4 separate regions of the Homo sapiens genome follow, and all the other regions are linked to region 1. Evidence: promoter capture Hi-C in 16 types of primary human blood cells and fetal thymus (Javierre and others, 2016). All regions are on one chromosome and are shown on one strand. The core of a region is centred on a gene start or on the middle of the fragment in contact, and the rest is flanking DNA. Distances in the headings are between cores, read along the strand shown.

Region 1 (3,617 bases), core at 382-2,881:
AAGCTTACTCTTACAGAGAAGGGCTTAGTAAGGCCTGGGTTCTTGCAGTGCCTATTCCCCAGGGCATGGCTTTAGGTGTTGGCTGTACAGAGAAAACATCCCTGTAGCCCACCAGTTTATTGGCTAGTTCTTTAGGGAAAGTCAGACTACTGGGCCCTGCTTTGGGACAGCAAATCCCTCATGTATTTATTAAGCAGATTTACTAATAAGGTCAGATGGCTAAATCTGACATGGTAGTCTTAGCTTCAACATCACCAAGCTGCAAAGAACCAAGAAGCCTCATTTATATGAATAGAATTCACTGCAATAAATAACAGTAACATCGTTTATGAAATGCTTGGTACGTACTAGGGGCTTTGTGTGTACTAAACAGCCCCTGAGGTATATATGCTCTCTCAAAGATGAAGAAACTCAAACAGGGAATTTCAATAATCGGTCCCCTAAATATACAGCCAGAAAAGTGCAAGGCCTAGATTCTGAGCTGGCGAAGAAGGGCGAATTTGGGATAATTAACACACTCGGATATACAAAAACACAACCGCTAATCCACATGACAGGCAGGCTGTTGGAAAGTTACGAATGCACCGCAAGCAAAAGATGCCACCATGGGCCCAGAGAATGCAGGAAAGTGGGAACTGACTCTTACGCCCTTCCCCCAAGGCGAAGGAAAGGCAACCCCTGAATTCTTAAAATAACTCTCGCTTCCTCTCAGCCGGCAAAAGCACCGGACTGCTCCTCGGCAGGCCGAGAGGCGCCGCAGCGGGAGGGTGAGTTCCAGCCTCCGCTGCAGCCCCTCGACGTCACGCTCCTGCCCGGGGCCACCAGGGAGGGCAACTGTCCGCGGGCCTCGAGAGGGCGCCGGCCGAGCCCCATCTCCCACTGCCAGGAGACCCAGGGTCCAGAGGGGAGATCAGATTGCACAATCCGAGGAGTCCTCTCCAGTATCCCCGCCGCGCGCCCGCTCCGCAAGGGCAGCGGCTTCCCCACTGTGTGCGAGAAGCGGCCGGAGCAGGGACAGCAGCCGGCCCTCGGGCCCTCACCGGGAAGGACACGCGGTGAGCCCGCCCCCGCGCCCGCACCTCCCACCGCTCCCCTGCGCGGCTCCGCGGCGGACACCTGCGGAGCCTCAGTCCCCGCGCCCTGGCTCCCCCGGGCCCGGTCACCCGTCGGCTGAAGACATCTAAGAGCCTTCGCCGCCGGAGCCCAGAGGCGGTGCGGCCAGGAAGCCGCCGCGGGCCGCGCCGATGCCCCCGGCCCCGAGTCTACCCTGCGCCCGGGACTCCGGCTGGTGGCACAGCCGCGGCCCCTGCACCCACTGCCCGCGTGCCCGCGCCCACCCCTGGGCTCGCGCAGAGGACTCACCCGCTCGCGGTGAAAGTTTCGGGGCGGCGGAGCTCCACGGTGACTTGAGTTCAGAGTGGGGGGCGCGACGGGGCGGCCCAGCAGGACCTGCGTATGGGGAGGCTGCTGGCCGGGAACGCTGGACGCGCGGCGAGGGGCTGCTGGCGCGGGGCCGGGGGTGGCGCGGCCGCCCCGCTTGCCGCGGGCTGGAGGCTGCAGCGCGTCTGGCCCGGAGGCGCCACGGCCGGGGAGCGAGCGGCAGCGCGGCCCGGCGCGGCGGGAGAGGAACTGGCTGTCTCTGGGCTCGGCCGAGAGGTCCCAGCTACTTCCTGGTGCTCGGATTTGCATATTGAGCCCGGAGGGCGGGGAAGTGACCGTTTGGTCCCTGCCCAAGGTTTGGGTGTTTGGTGTGGCCGTCGCGCAGGGCTTTGAAGGCACAGAAACCTGGCGACTCAGTCTGCAGCTCCGGGGAGTGGAGCAGCCCGGGCCAGCCTTCTCCTGTAGGGACGGACGGAAGGATCTCCAGAGGAGCCTGGGCTTCGCAGGCACATCGACTACACCTCTCGCGTCTCCTTTCCTTTCCTTCCGACCCATCCCCAAGGTATTATTAGGAAGGGGGTGCTCCCAGGAGCGGAGGAGGTGCGCTCTGATCCCTTCCAACATTAGGGGTTCTCTAGAGAAAGGATGCGATATGCCGAGGTGATGCTCGGGGTCTCGCTGAGTTCTTAATAATCATTACAAAGTAAGTTCCTTAAGGGTGTACAGGAGGCTGTTCAGGGCATTGATGGGGGAGGGGATGACGTAGAGTCAAATGGCCCGGCAAGTTCTCCGTTTCTCAAAGCCTCAGTTTCCTCCCAGGACAATGGATGTGAGGATGCCTATCTCGTGTACCTTTCTGTACAGGGCCCGCACTGCCCGCATGCAGGAATGCTGGCGTTATTTCATTCCTACTACAGCTGCGTCCCAGCATGTAGGGCAGTGCTTGCACGTAGCAGCTGGTGCCTAACCAGTGTTTGCTGAAAGAATGTGTGACCGCGTGCTCAAGCTCATGTTCAACTCAATAAATGCCACTTACAAATCCAAGATGTAAGATTAGGCTCGGGCACCGTGGATACCCACTTCTTCTAAGCCAGATTCTGTTCACTGGGATCTCAGCATTGCATTAATAGCAAACATTTACAGAGGGCCTGATGGGCCAGACACTGCCCAAAGCACTTCCTTTCTCTCATTAACAATGTTCTGAAGAGGCTGACCCCAGCTACAGAGCAATAAGTCAAAGCAGCTGCCTTGTGACACAATCTGATACAGCAGTTATTTGTTACTAGGAAAAGAGTACTAAAGTTTGCATACTAATTCCTTAAAAGAAGAAAGGTGGTTTATACCTGTGATGTTCACTGGTATGTAGTTGTTAGTTTACTGCTGAAGAGAAGGGGTGGGTTGCCCATGGAAATACCCATGGGAAGGTGTGTGATTGAAACCTATCAAGAATCCTATGGAGAAAAATAGAAAAATGAAAAAAGAACAAAACAAAACAAAATGAAACAAAAAACAATGAATCCTACAGAATAATTCACTACCTGAGGGCCTATTGCCTAGACTTTTCTTAAGAATGACCTCTCAAATATATTAACCCTACATTAAAGTTTCTGCTGCTACTGATGAATCCTTGAGATCCTGACTAAACGTGTGTGGCAAATAAGAATAGGATTCAAAAACGTTTGGTATTGGTTAATCTATCAGGAATGTCTGTCAGTGTTTTTGGTAAAATGTCTCTCAGGGTAAGGAACAAAGCATCATCAGGCTTACCTGAGCTTGCAACCAGATCCCCAACTCCCTAACTCCTCACAAAATTGTCCTCACTAAGTTCATCTCTTCATTCTTATTTGGAAAAAAACGATACGATGCTAATTTCCACTTCTTAGGCTGCATTTATACTTGCTGAATACTTCATTCAATCATTCTCCATATCTGTCTTTCCTTCTTAATGTCCCATGAAAGTTCTATTTCTCAGGAAAGTTTTATTTAAAGCTCCTATTGATAGGCAACTTTTTAAAGCATCTGTAGCATGTATGGTGTGCAACATTATTTTAAACTAGACCTAGGTACTTTTTAGCATTGTTTGCCCATGTTAGGCTTGTCTCCTCAACTACTGGTAAACTCCTTTTGGGAAGGCACTGCCTTTTATATTTATCTATTCCCCACTCTACCTCCCAGAAATTATGTTGGGTGCTTTAAAATAGTTCATTAGTATTGATTGATTGGTTAATTGATTGATG
Region 2 (3,617 bases), core at 458-2,957, 210 kb before region 1:
AAAGACAGAAAGAAAGAAAGAGAGAGAGAGAGAGAGAAAGAAAGAAAGAAAGAAAGAAAGAAAGAAAGAAAGAAAGAGAAAGAGAGAGAGGAAGGAAGGGAGGGAGGGAGGGAGGGAGGAAGGGAGGAAGGGAGGGAGGGAGGGAGGGAAAGAAGGGAAAGAAAGAAAGAGAAAGAAAGGAGGGAGGGAAGGAAGGAAGGAAAAAAGAAAAGAATAATTGAAAAAGAACACACATACATAAAAATCATCATGCCCTAATAGAGAAACGAACGAAAATCTTGAAAGTTCAATTCATAATAAAGAATATGCATTTAGGAGACAAATATGAAAAACAGGATAACGTGATCTCACAAGTACTTGAAGAATTGCAAATTTAAAATAAGGTATCTTTTTTTAAAACACCCACACATACACAATTCTTAATTTGAATAAAGTTGTGGTAAAAGAAGATCTCGCCACTCCTAGTGACAATATAAATTATTAAAGCTTTTTGGAAAATAACTGCAGTTTGGCAGTGTATCAAGAACCTCAAAAATATTTATATTCACTGATTCAGTAATTCTGCTTCTGGACCTCCATCCTATGAAATACTATAAAATAAGAATTTTAATTGAAAAAAAATCACCAAGAGCCATTTATTCTGGTAAGAAATTCAAAGAAAGATAAATGTTTTAAACTAGTTAAATAAATTGCAATAGAACAGTTGATTCAAAAGGATATGAAGATTGTGATAACAGAAATGGCTGTACTATAGTGTTCAATGAATGGGGCAGAGTACAAAATTACACATTGTTTGATTATAAGTGCTTTTTAAAATCAAGAAATTTTTCTTAAAACACACAGAGAAAAGACCGAAATTAAAGTTTCGTTTGTCTGGGGTTAGTTGTCTGGAGGGCTGTGGATTTATTTATTTAAAAAAAAACTTTTCTTGTTTTCCAATTTCTAGAAATTCTTTATAATATAAACAATCTGAAAAGAAATTAAGAAAACAATTCCATTTACAATAGTATCAAAAGAACAAAATACTTAGGAATAAACCTAATCAAGGAGGTAAAAGGCTTTTACATTGCCATAAAACATTGCTGAAAGAAGACACAAATAAATGGAAGGACATCCTGTGTTTAAAATTTTTTTTTTTTTTTAGATGGAGTCTTGCTCTGTTGCCCAGGCTGGAGTGCAGTGGCACGATCTTGGCTCACTGCAAGCTCCACCTCCCAGGTTCACGCCGTTCTCCTGCCTCAGCCTCCAGAATAGCTGGGACTACAGGCGCCTGCCACCATGCCCAGCTAATTTTTTGTAATTTTTAGTAGAGATGGGGTTTCACTGTGTTAACCAGGATGGTCTCGATCTCCTGACCTCGTGATCCACCCACCTCGGCCTCCCAAAGTGCTGGGATTACAGGCGTGAACCACCGCACCCGGCCTCATCCTGTGTTTATGAATTGGAAGATGGAGTCTCGCTCTTGTCACCCAGGCTGTAGTGCAATGGCGCTATCTTGGCTCACTGCAACCTCTGCCCCCACCCCGTTCAAGCAATTCTCCTGCCTCAGCCTCCCAAGTAGCTGGCATTGCAGGCGCCCACCCCCACGCATGGTTAATGTTTGTATTTTTAGTAAAGACAGGGTTTCACCATGTTGGCCAGGCTGGTCTCGAACTCCTGATCTCAGGTGATCTGGCCACCTCAGCTTCCCGAAATGTTGGGATTACAGAGATGAGCCACTGTGCCCAGCTGGAAGACTTAATATTATAAAAATGTCCATACTAGCCAAAGCAACCTACAGATTCAGTGGAATCCTATTTCAGAATCTAAATGTCTTTCTTTGCAGAAATAAAATTACCCTAAAATTCATATGGAATATTAAAAGATCTTTAATAGCCAAAACAATTTTGAAAAGAAAGAACAAAGTTAAATGACTCACACTTCCTGATTTCAAAACATATTACAAAGCCATAGTAATCAAAACAGTGTAGTGCTGGCATGAAAACAGACAAATAGACCAATGGAATAAAATAGAGCCCAGAAATAAACTCTTGTGTATATGGTCAAATGATCTTCAACAAATATGCTTCATTTAGTTTTTTTATTATTTCTTTCTTTACCAAAGTAACTTAAGCAAACACAAAAGTCACATCATTTTATTTCTTCATCCTTCTATTAGCATCTCTAAAATATGGACACTTTCTTACATAACCATAATGTCATTATCACTCTTAATTAACAATTTCTCACTAATATCAAATGATTTATCAATAATCAAATTTCCCTAATTGCCTCAAAATATGTTCTATGGTTGTTTTGTTTATATCAACATCTAAATAAGATGCACACATTTCTTTTAGGTGTTCTTTTAATCTAGATTCCTCCCCCCACCCAAATGTTTGTTTGCTTGTTTGCAGAAACTAGGTTCATTTTCTTTTCTTTCTTTCTTTTTTTTTTTTTTTTTTTTTGGTGATGGAATCTTGCTCTGTCGCCCAGGCTGGAGTACAGTGGCATGATCTCAGTTCACTGCAACCTCTGCCTCTCAGGTTCAAGCGATTCTCCTGCCTCAGCCTTCCGAGTAGCTGGGACTACAGGCACGAGCCACCACTCCCAGCTAATGCATTTGTAGTAGAGACAGGGTTTTGCCATGTTGGTCAGGCTGGTCTCGAACTCCTGACCTCAAGTGATCCACCCACCTCAGCCTCCCAAAGTGCTGGGATTACAAGTGTGAGCTACCACACCTGACCAAACCAGGTTTATTTTCTATTAAATGTCCCACATATTGGGTTTGCCTATTGGCTTCTGGGATAGTCCCTTTGCATTGCTATAAAGGAACACCTGAGAATAGGTAATTCATAAAGAAAAGAGGTTTATTTGGCTCACATGTCTGCAGGCTGTACAGGAAGTATAGCTCCCACATCTGCTTCCAGGGAGGGCTTAGGAAGCTTCCACTCATGACTGAAGGCAAAGGGAAACTGGCATCCCATGGTGAGAGAAGGAGCACGAGCCAGGAAGGGGGTACCAACTTCTTTTTTTTTTGAGATAGAATCTCGCTCTGTAGTCCAGGCTGGAGTGCAGTGGCCTGATCTCAGCTCACTGCAACCGCACCTCCCTGGGTTCAAGCAATTCTCCTGCTTCAGCCTCCCAAGTAGCTGGGACTACAGGCACACACCACCATGCCCAGCTAAGTTTTGTATTTTTAGTAGAGAAGGGGGTTTCAATATGTTGGCCAGGCTGGTCTTGAACTCCTGACCTCAGGTGATCCGCCCAACTTGGCCTCCCAAAGTGCTGGGATTACAGGCATGAGTCACCGTGCCCGGCTGCCAGCCCCTTTTAAATAACCAGATCTCACATGAACTGAAAGAACTCACTCATTACCATGAGGATGGCACCAAGCTATTTGTGAGGGATCCACCCCCATGACCCAAATACCTCCCACTATGCCCACCTGCAACATTGGGGGTCACATTTCAACATGAGATTTGGAGGGGACAAAACATCCAAACTGTATCAGCTTCTTTGTGGTGACATTTAAATCTTTCTATTATCCCCCCATTCCCTGTGAGGGGAATTTGGTTTTAGACCCTTGACTAAGTTCAGGTTCAACATTTAGGGGAAGAATCCTTCATATGTGGTGC
Region 3 (3,617 bases), core at 611-3,110, 180 kb before region 1:
GGTGTATAATTGTTCATTGTATTCTTGTTAATCCTTTTAATTTCTGTAGCATCATTTATAATGTCCCATATGGCATTTCTAATTTTAGTTATCTTCTCTCTTTTTTCTTGGTTAATCTAGCTCAGAGTTTGCCAATTTTTTGACCTTTTCAAAAAACCAACTCTTAGTTTCATTTTTAAATTCCATTTATATCTCTGTTCTAATCTTAGTTATTTTCCTCCTTTTTTTTGCTAACTTCGGGTTTCATTTTTTCTCCTTTTTCTTGAGGTTTAAAAGGGTTTCTTGCAGGGCGCAGTGGCTCACGCCTGTAATTCCAGCACTTTGGGAGGCCGAGGTGGGCGGATCATGAGGTCAGGAAATTGAGACCATCCTGGCTAACACACGGTGAAACCCCATCTCTACTAAAAATACAAAAAAATTAGCCGGGCGTGGTGGCGGACGCCTGTAGTCCCAGCTTCTCAGGAGGCTGAGGCGGGAGAATCGCTTGAACCCGGGAGGCGGAGCTTGCAGTGAGCCGAGATCACGCCACTGCACTCCAGCCTGGGCGACAGAGCAAGACTCCGTCTCAAAAAAAAATAAAAAAATAAGAACAATAATAATAAAAAGCGTTTCTTGAGGTATAAAATTAGGGGTTTCTTGAGGTATAAAATTAGGTTGTTTCTTTTAGCTATTTCCTCTTCTTTTTTCTTAGAGATACAGTATGGCTCTGTCACCCCAGCTGGAGTGCAGTGGAAGGGTCACAGTTCACTGCAACCTCGAACTCCTGGGCTCAAGCAATCTTCCTACCTCAGCCTCCTTAGCAACTGTAACTACAGGGCCACTATGTCCAGCTATTTTTTATTTATTATTTTTTGTAGAGATGGGTTCTCACTATGTTGTCCAGGCTAGTCTTGAACTCCTGGTTTTAATCAATCCTCCTACCTCAGCCTCCCAAAGATCTGGGAGTACAGGCATGAGGCATCACACCTGGCCTATTTCTTCTTTTTTAATGTAAGCATTTACAGCTATAATCTTCCTTCTTGGTAATGCTTTCACCGCATTCCATAAGTTTTGATATATTGTATTTTCATTTTCATTTGTCTCAAGATATTTTCTAATTTCTCTTGTGATTTATTTTTTTCTTTTTCTTTCTCTCTCTTTTTTTTTTTTTTTTTTTTTTTGAGACAGAGTCTCACTCTGTTGCCCAGGCTGGAGTGCAGTGGCACAATCTTGTCTCACTACAACCTCCGCCTCCCAGGTTCAAGCAATTCTCCAGCCTCAGCCTCCCGAGTAGCTGGGATTACAGGTTCCTGCCACCACACCCGGCTGATTTTTTGTATGTTTAATACAGACGGGGTTTCACCATGTTAGCTGGGCTGGCCTCGAACTCCTGACCTCAAGTGATCTGCCTGCCTCAGCCTCCAAAGTGCTGGGATCACAGGCGTGAGCCACCGTGCCTGGCTTAGAAATGGGGTTTCACCATGTTGGCAAGGCTGGTCTCGAACTCCTGATTTCAGGTCATCCACAGGCCTCGGCCTCCCAAAGTCCTGGGATTACAGGCGTGAGCCACTGTGCCCGGCCTCTTGTGGTTTCTTCTTTGACTCATTGGTTGTTTAATAGTTTGCTCTTTAATTGCCACATGTGTGTGGATTTTCCGTTTTCCTTCTGCTACTGATTTCTAGTTTCATTCTATCGTGGTTGGAAACGATTACTTTGTATGATTTCAGTCTTCTTAAATTTGTTAAGACTTGTTCTGTGGCCTAACCTGTGATTTATTCTGGAGAATGATCTCTGCACTTGAGAAGAATGTGTATTCTGCTGTTGTTGGATGGCGTGTTCTCTATATGTCTATCAGGTCTAATTGGTCTATAATGTTCAAGTCTTGTTTCCTTATTGATCTTCTGTCTGGTTGACTTAGTCTACTTCGTCTGACAGTAGAATGGCCACCTCTGCTCTCTTTTGGTTACCATTTGCATGGAATAACTTTTTCCATTTTTTCACTTTCAGCCTATGTGCATCCTAGATCTAAAGTGAATCTCTTATAGAAAGCATACAGTTGGATCTTGTTTTTTTTTTTTTAATTCATTCAACCAATCTGTGTCTTTTGATTGGGGAGTTTAATTCATTTATATTTAAATTAATTACTGATAATGAATGACTTACTATTGCCATTTTGTTGTTTTCTGTGTATCTTGTAACTATTTTTTCTCTCTTCCTCTTGTACTGCCTTCCTTTATGTTTCATTAGTTTATTTTTATTTATTTATTTATTTTTGAGATGGAGTTTCGCTCTTGTTGCCCAAGCTGGAGTGCAATGGCGCGATCTCGGCTCACTGCAACCTCCGCCTCCTGGCTTCAAGTGATTCTCCTGCCTCAGCCTCCAGAGTAGCTGGGATTACAGGCATGCGCCACCATGCCCAGGTAATTTTTTGTTTTTAGTAGAGATGGGGTTTCACCATGTTAGCTGGGCTGGTCTCCACCTCCTGACCTCAGGTGATCTGCCCACCTTGGTCCCCCAAAGTGCTGGGATTATAGGTGTGAGCCATCTTGCCCGGCCTCATTAATTTTTGTAGTGACATGCTTTGATTCCCTCCTCTTTTCCTTGTGTGTATCTTCTATAAGTATTTTTTTTGTAGTTACTATGGGGATTATATAAAACATCTTAAAGTTATAATAATCTATTTTAAACTGATACAACTTAACTTTAATCACTTACGAAAACTCTACTTTGTTACATATTTGTCCTCTGGTGAATTTTTCAGTTCAGCTATTTTTCCACTCCAGAATGTGTGTTTTTCTTTTTAATAGTTTTAATTTCTTTATTGATATTCTCATTTTATTCATGCATTGTCTTTCTGACTTTGTTTAGTTGTCTATTTGTGTTCTCTTTTAGCTAATTGAGCTTCTCTATAATGATTATTTTTAATTGTTTATCAGTTAATTCATAGTTCTCTACTTCTTTAGAGTTGGTTGCTGAAGATTTATTTTGTTCATTTGATTGGGCCATTGTGTTGGTCTGTTTCTGTGTTGCTGTAAAGAAACACCTGGGGATGGGTAATTTATAAAGCAAAGAAGTTTAATTGGCTCATGGTTCTGCAGGCTATACCAGCATGGCTCCAGCATCTGCTTCTGGTGAGGGCCTCAGGAAACTTAATCATGGCGGAAGGCAAAGTGGGAGCAGCCACATCACATGGCAAAAGTGGGAGCAAGAGAACAAGGGGAGAGGAGCCACATACTTTTAAACAACTAGATGTTGTGTGAATTCAGAGTGAGAAATCACTTATAACCAAGGGGATAGTGCTAAACCATCCATGAGGGATCCACTGCCATGATTCAGTCACCTCCTATCAGGCCCCACCTCCAACATTGGTAATCACATTTCAACATGAGATTTGGAGGGGACAAACATCCGAACCGTATGAGCCATGTTTCCCTCTTTTGTATGTCTTGTGACATCTTGTTGGGATTGTCTCTTCCAGTCCATATGGACTGGCTTCATATAGGAGATCTTCACAAGAAGCCTGACATAGATGGTGGGCGACTTCTCAAACCTTTCTTGGGGATGCATTTCCTTTCTTTCTTTCTTTTTTTTTTTTTTTTTTTTTTTTTGAGATGGAGTCTCGCTCTGTTGCCCAGGCT
Region 4 (3,617 bases), core at 568-3,067, 140 kb after region 1:
CAGTGGCCCATGCCTGTAATCCCAGCACATTGGAAGGCCAAGGTGGGAGAATTGCTTGAGCCCCAGGAGTTCGAGAACAGCCTGGGAAACATAGTGAAACCCCATCTCTATAAAAAAGAGAAATATATAAGCTTCAGGTGTACTGAGAAGGAAATCATTAATTCTGAGGGGTAATGGGAGATAAATCAGTCTATATTAAGATCTACTAACAATAGCTTTTCTTTTGTTTTCTTAATAGACGAAGAATGCTGTTCAAGCTTTGATTGATAAGCACCAAAGAATACCAGGAAACATTATGAGTGCTTTGTTAGAACGTTTTCATTGATAACAAAGGGTCAACTAGAAGATGATTTAGTACATTTATATTAAATGTTTGTATCTAAGGTACTGTCTTCTGAATTTTGTAGGTCCTATAATTAGTATTTTTTAAAAAAATCATGTTAATAAGCATCTTTCACAGAATTCGTTTCTTTAAAATAGTCAATTTTGTTTTTGCAATTGTGTCAAATACTAACAAATTACACACCTAGTAATTCAGAAAAAGATGTCTTATTTGTAAATTCCTAACAATTTATGCTAAACATATAGATTCTTAAGTTTATTAATAACAGCAGTTTAGGTTAAACAAACATTCCTGGATAATGCGTTAAATTTCTGTATCTGTCGCCCTGAGCTGATTTTGAAAGATGGTATAAGCTAGGGGTTAGTATAGTTGTTTAAGTTAGAAAAAACATGCTGTTGTCTGCCCCTCATTCCCTTCATGACCTTGGGCAAGTCACGTAATGTTTTTGTGCCTCAACAATTCACTTTTTAAAAACATGATCGTATGATGAATGATATTATTTTGTTATTTATATTTACTGTGATTGATAACTGTTGAACCAAAATAATAAAATAATTAATTTAAACAATGTCAAAATCCTTTAGCAGTTATGTATATATTTTCTCCATTGTGTGTTTAAATTATGTCATGTCCAGTTGCCAAGCACAATGAAAAAGATGTATTATTTTTTAAATTGAATAAAAAATTAGGAAAAATAAAATTTCTAATTATTATTTTTAGTATGATATTTTTAACAAGAGTCTATAGGCAAACAATATAGGGTGTGCTGTGCATTGTCAGCCCTATACTGTGGTCTTAATAATGCCAGCTTAAAAATCACTGTTGTGCTCTGCATTTCGTGTGTTAGAAGCTGATTCTAGGCTGAGGAAAGCAAGAGTTCTCTACTTTTGCTCAATATTGAGGCTTACCCAGTTTGACTCTACAGCCAGTGAAGTGGTTTATTGCTTCAATAAAAATATACTTGAATGATGAATTTATTTATGTTTTGTTTTGTTTTTATTTAGAGATGGGGTTTTGCCATGTTGGCCAGGCTGGTCTTGAACTCCTGACCTCAGGTGATCCACCTGCCTCAGCCTCCCAACTTGCTGGGATTACAGGTGTGAGCCACCATGCCCAGCCTGAATGATGAATTTATGTGAACACAAAGCCCTCTGAAAAATTAATGATTTTCAATTTGTTGTCTTCTTGAAAACTGAATTTAAGTATTATTTAAACAGAAAAGTGTCAGAAATCAAATGCAGTATCTCCCTCTCCCTTTTTTAAATGTTGAATTAGTAGGGTTTTTGTATAGCTTTTTGTATTGTGTGTATTTATGATATGTGAAATGTACATAAAATTAAACAATGTGAAAATAAACCTGAGTTGCAGTTAATTTTCTTGAGAAATTACATGTGACATTTTAAAAATCTTTTTTTTTTTTTTTCTGAGATGGAGTCTCGCTGTGTCTGTTTCCCAGGCTGGAGTGCAGTGGCACCATCTTGGCTCACTGCAACCTCCGCCTCCCAGGTTCAAGCAATGCTCCTTCTGTCTTCTGAAGGAGCCTCCTGAGTAGCTGGGATTACATGAGTGTACCACTACACCTGGCTAATTTTTGTGTTTTTAGTAGAGACAGGGTTTTACCATGTTGGCCAGGCTGGTCTTGAACTGCTGACCTCAAGTGATCCGCCCACCTCAGCCTCCCGAAGTGCTGGGATTACAGGTGTGAGCCACTGCGCCCACCCTAAATAGTCATTTTAAATTGATTTTTTTGTTGTACTCTTTACACATTTCTCACCTATAATCATATTCTTTGATCTAGCCACAATGAAGAAACTTCACTTTCCAGTGTAATAAATATATTTTAATTTTGTGGTCAATGAGAAGAGTCAATTAATGATTACTTGCAGTTTCCTCCCCCCACCAGTGAGCAGTGTTTGGTTCAAAATTGATGAAATATTTCAGAATGAATGAATAAATGATATAAAATGAATGAGAAATTTGTTTTGGGTCAACTATTGAGTTTTAAAGACTGAAGTTAGCCAGGAGTGGTGTCATGAACCTGTAGTCCCAGCTACTTGGAAGGCTGAGGCGGGAGAATTGCTTGAGCCCAGGAGTTCGAGGCTGCAGTGAGTCGCAATTGTGCCACTGCACAGCCTGAGTGATAGAGCAAGCCCATGGTTCTATTAATAAAGACTAAAGAAAGAACAGCATTTATTGCTAATGTGGCAAAAGCTATTATTTTTACAATATTTAAGTTTTACTGCTTTAATTAAAACCTTTTTTTAAAACCCTGATATTCAGACTAACATCATTGCTTCAGATCTTTATCTTTGCTATTTGAGTTTAATTCCCATTTATAAGAGTCAGAGAATATGACTAAATATAGAAATATGGCTGGGCATGATGGCACACACCTATAATCCCAGCACTTTGGGAGGATTGCTTGAGGCCAGGAGTTTGAGACCACCTGGACAACATAACAAGACCTCTTATCAAATAAAATTTTTTTGTTTTTAAATTAAGCTGGGTTCAGTGGCTCACACCTGTCATCCTAACACTTTGGGAGGCTGAGGCAACTGGGTCACTTGAGCCCAGGAATTCAAGACCAGCCTGGGTGAAATCCTGTCTCTACAAGAAAACGCACAAAAATCGGCTGGGTATGGTAGTGCACACCTGCAGTTACAGCTACCTGGGAGGCTGAGGTGGAAGGTTGAGCCTGGAGAGGTCAGGGCTGCAGTGAGCCATGATTGTGCCACTGCACTCCAGCCTCAGCAACAGAATGACACCCTGTCTCAAAAAAAAAAAAAAAAAAAAAAATTAAAACAAAAGAAATATAAGTAATGGGAAGAAGGTGTATCAGTTTTTTTTCATAATTTTTCTTTCCCTTCTTATCACTTCTATTCATGTGTCTTGACCCTTTTTTGAGGAGTGTTCACAGTCAGAACCTGATGCAAGTATGAAGAGCCTCTCTCCAGAAGTGTAAACATGGCGCACTTATGGGAAGTTTTTCTTGCTCATTTTTAAAAACTTTCATTCTGAAACAATTCGAAGCTTACAGAAAAGTTGCAATTATAGTGCAGAGTACTCCCATACACTCTTCACCCAGATTCACCAAGGTAACATGTCACATTTGTTTTATTCTTTTCACACTCCTGTTGCCCTCGCTGTCTCCACATATGTATCTATACTTTTTCTCCTAGATCATCTGATAGTAAATTGCAAATACCATGCCCCTTACTGTTACCTGGACTGTGAGATCATCCATTTACAGAACCACAAGACAATGATAAAAAAA

The links. The method cuts DNA at HindIII sites, captures the fragments that hold promoters and counts their contacts. A CHiCAGO score of 5 or more calls a contact.
Region 2: a contact is called between a fragment that was not itself captured here and the fragment with the promoter of LYN in region 1, in 1 of 17 cell types (neutrophils). The highest score is 7.5, in neutrophils.
Region 3: a fragment that was not itself captured here is called in contact with the fragment with the promoter of LYN in region 1 in 7 of 17 cell types (naive B cells, erythroblasts, total B cells and 4 more); the score reaches 8.6 in naive B cells.
Region 4: a fragment that was not itself captured here is called in contact with the fragment with the promoter of LYN in region 1 in 1 of 17 cell types (neutrophils); the score reaches 6.0 in neutrophils.

Annotation. Positions count from the first base shown.
Region 1 is chr8:55,877,849-55,881,465 of GRCh38, reverse strand. It overlaps LYN (LYN proto-oncogene, Src family tyrosine kinase), which reads right to left and starts at 1,631. Exons shown (of 13, transcript NM_002350.4): 1 at 1,363-1,631. RefSeq lists silencers at 848-1,027, 1,058-1,347, 1,428-1,597, 1,618-1,677 and enhancers at 1,828-1,887, 2,448-2,537. The HindIII fragment of the contact is 13,046 bases long and covers 6-3,617 here.
Region 2 is chr8:56,089,284-56,092,900 of GRCh38, reverse strand. No RefSeq gene overlaps it. Among named protein-coding and RNA genes, the nearest start is that of CERNA3, 16 kb to the right of the region's middle. The HindIII fragment of the contact is 2,438 bases long and covers 489-2,926 here.
Region 3 is chr8:56,060,763-56,064,379 of GRCh38, reverse strand. No RefSeq gene overlaps it. Among named protein-coding and RNA genes, the nearest start is that of SNORD54, 11 kb to the left of the region's middle. The HindIII fragment of the contact is 4,265 bases long and covers 1-3,617 here.
Region 4 is chr8:55,736,840-55,740,456 of GRCh38, reverse strand. TMEM68 (transmembrane protein 68) reads left to right here. Exons shown (of 8, transcript NM_001286657.2): 8 at 239-1,699. The coding sequence ends at 325. Among named protein-coding and RNA genes, the nearest start is that of TMEM68, 35 kb to the left of the region's middle. The HindIII fragment of the contact is 3,116 bases long and covers 260-3,375 here.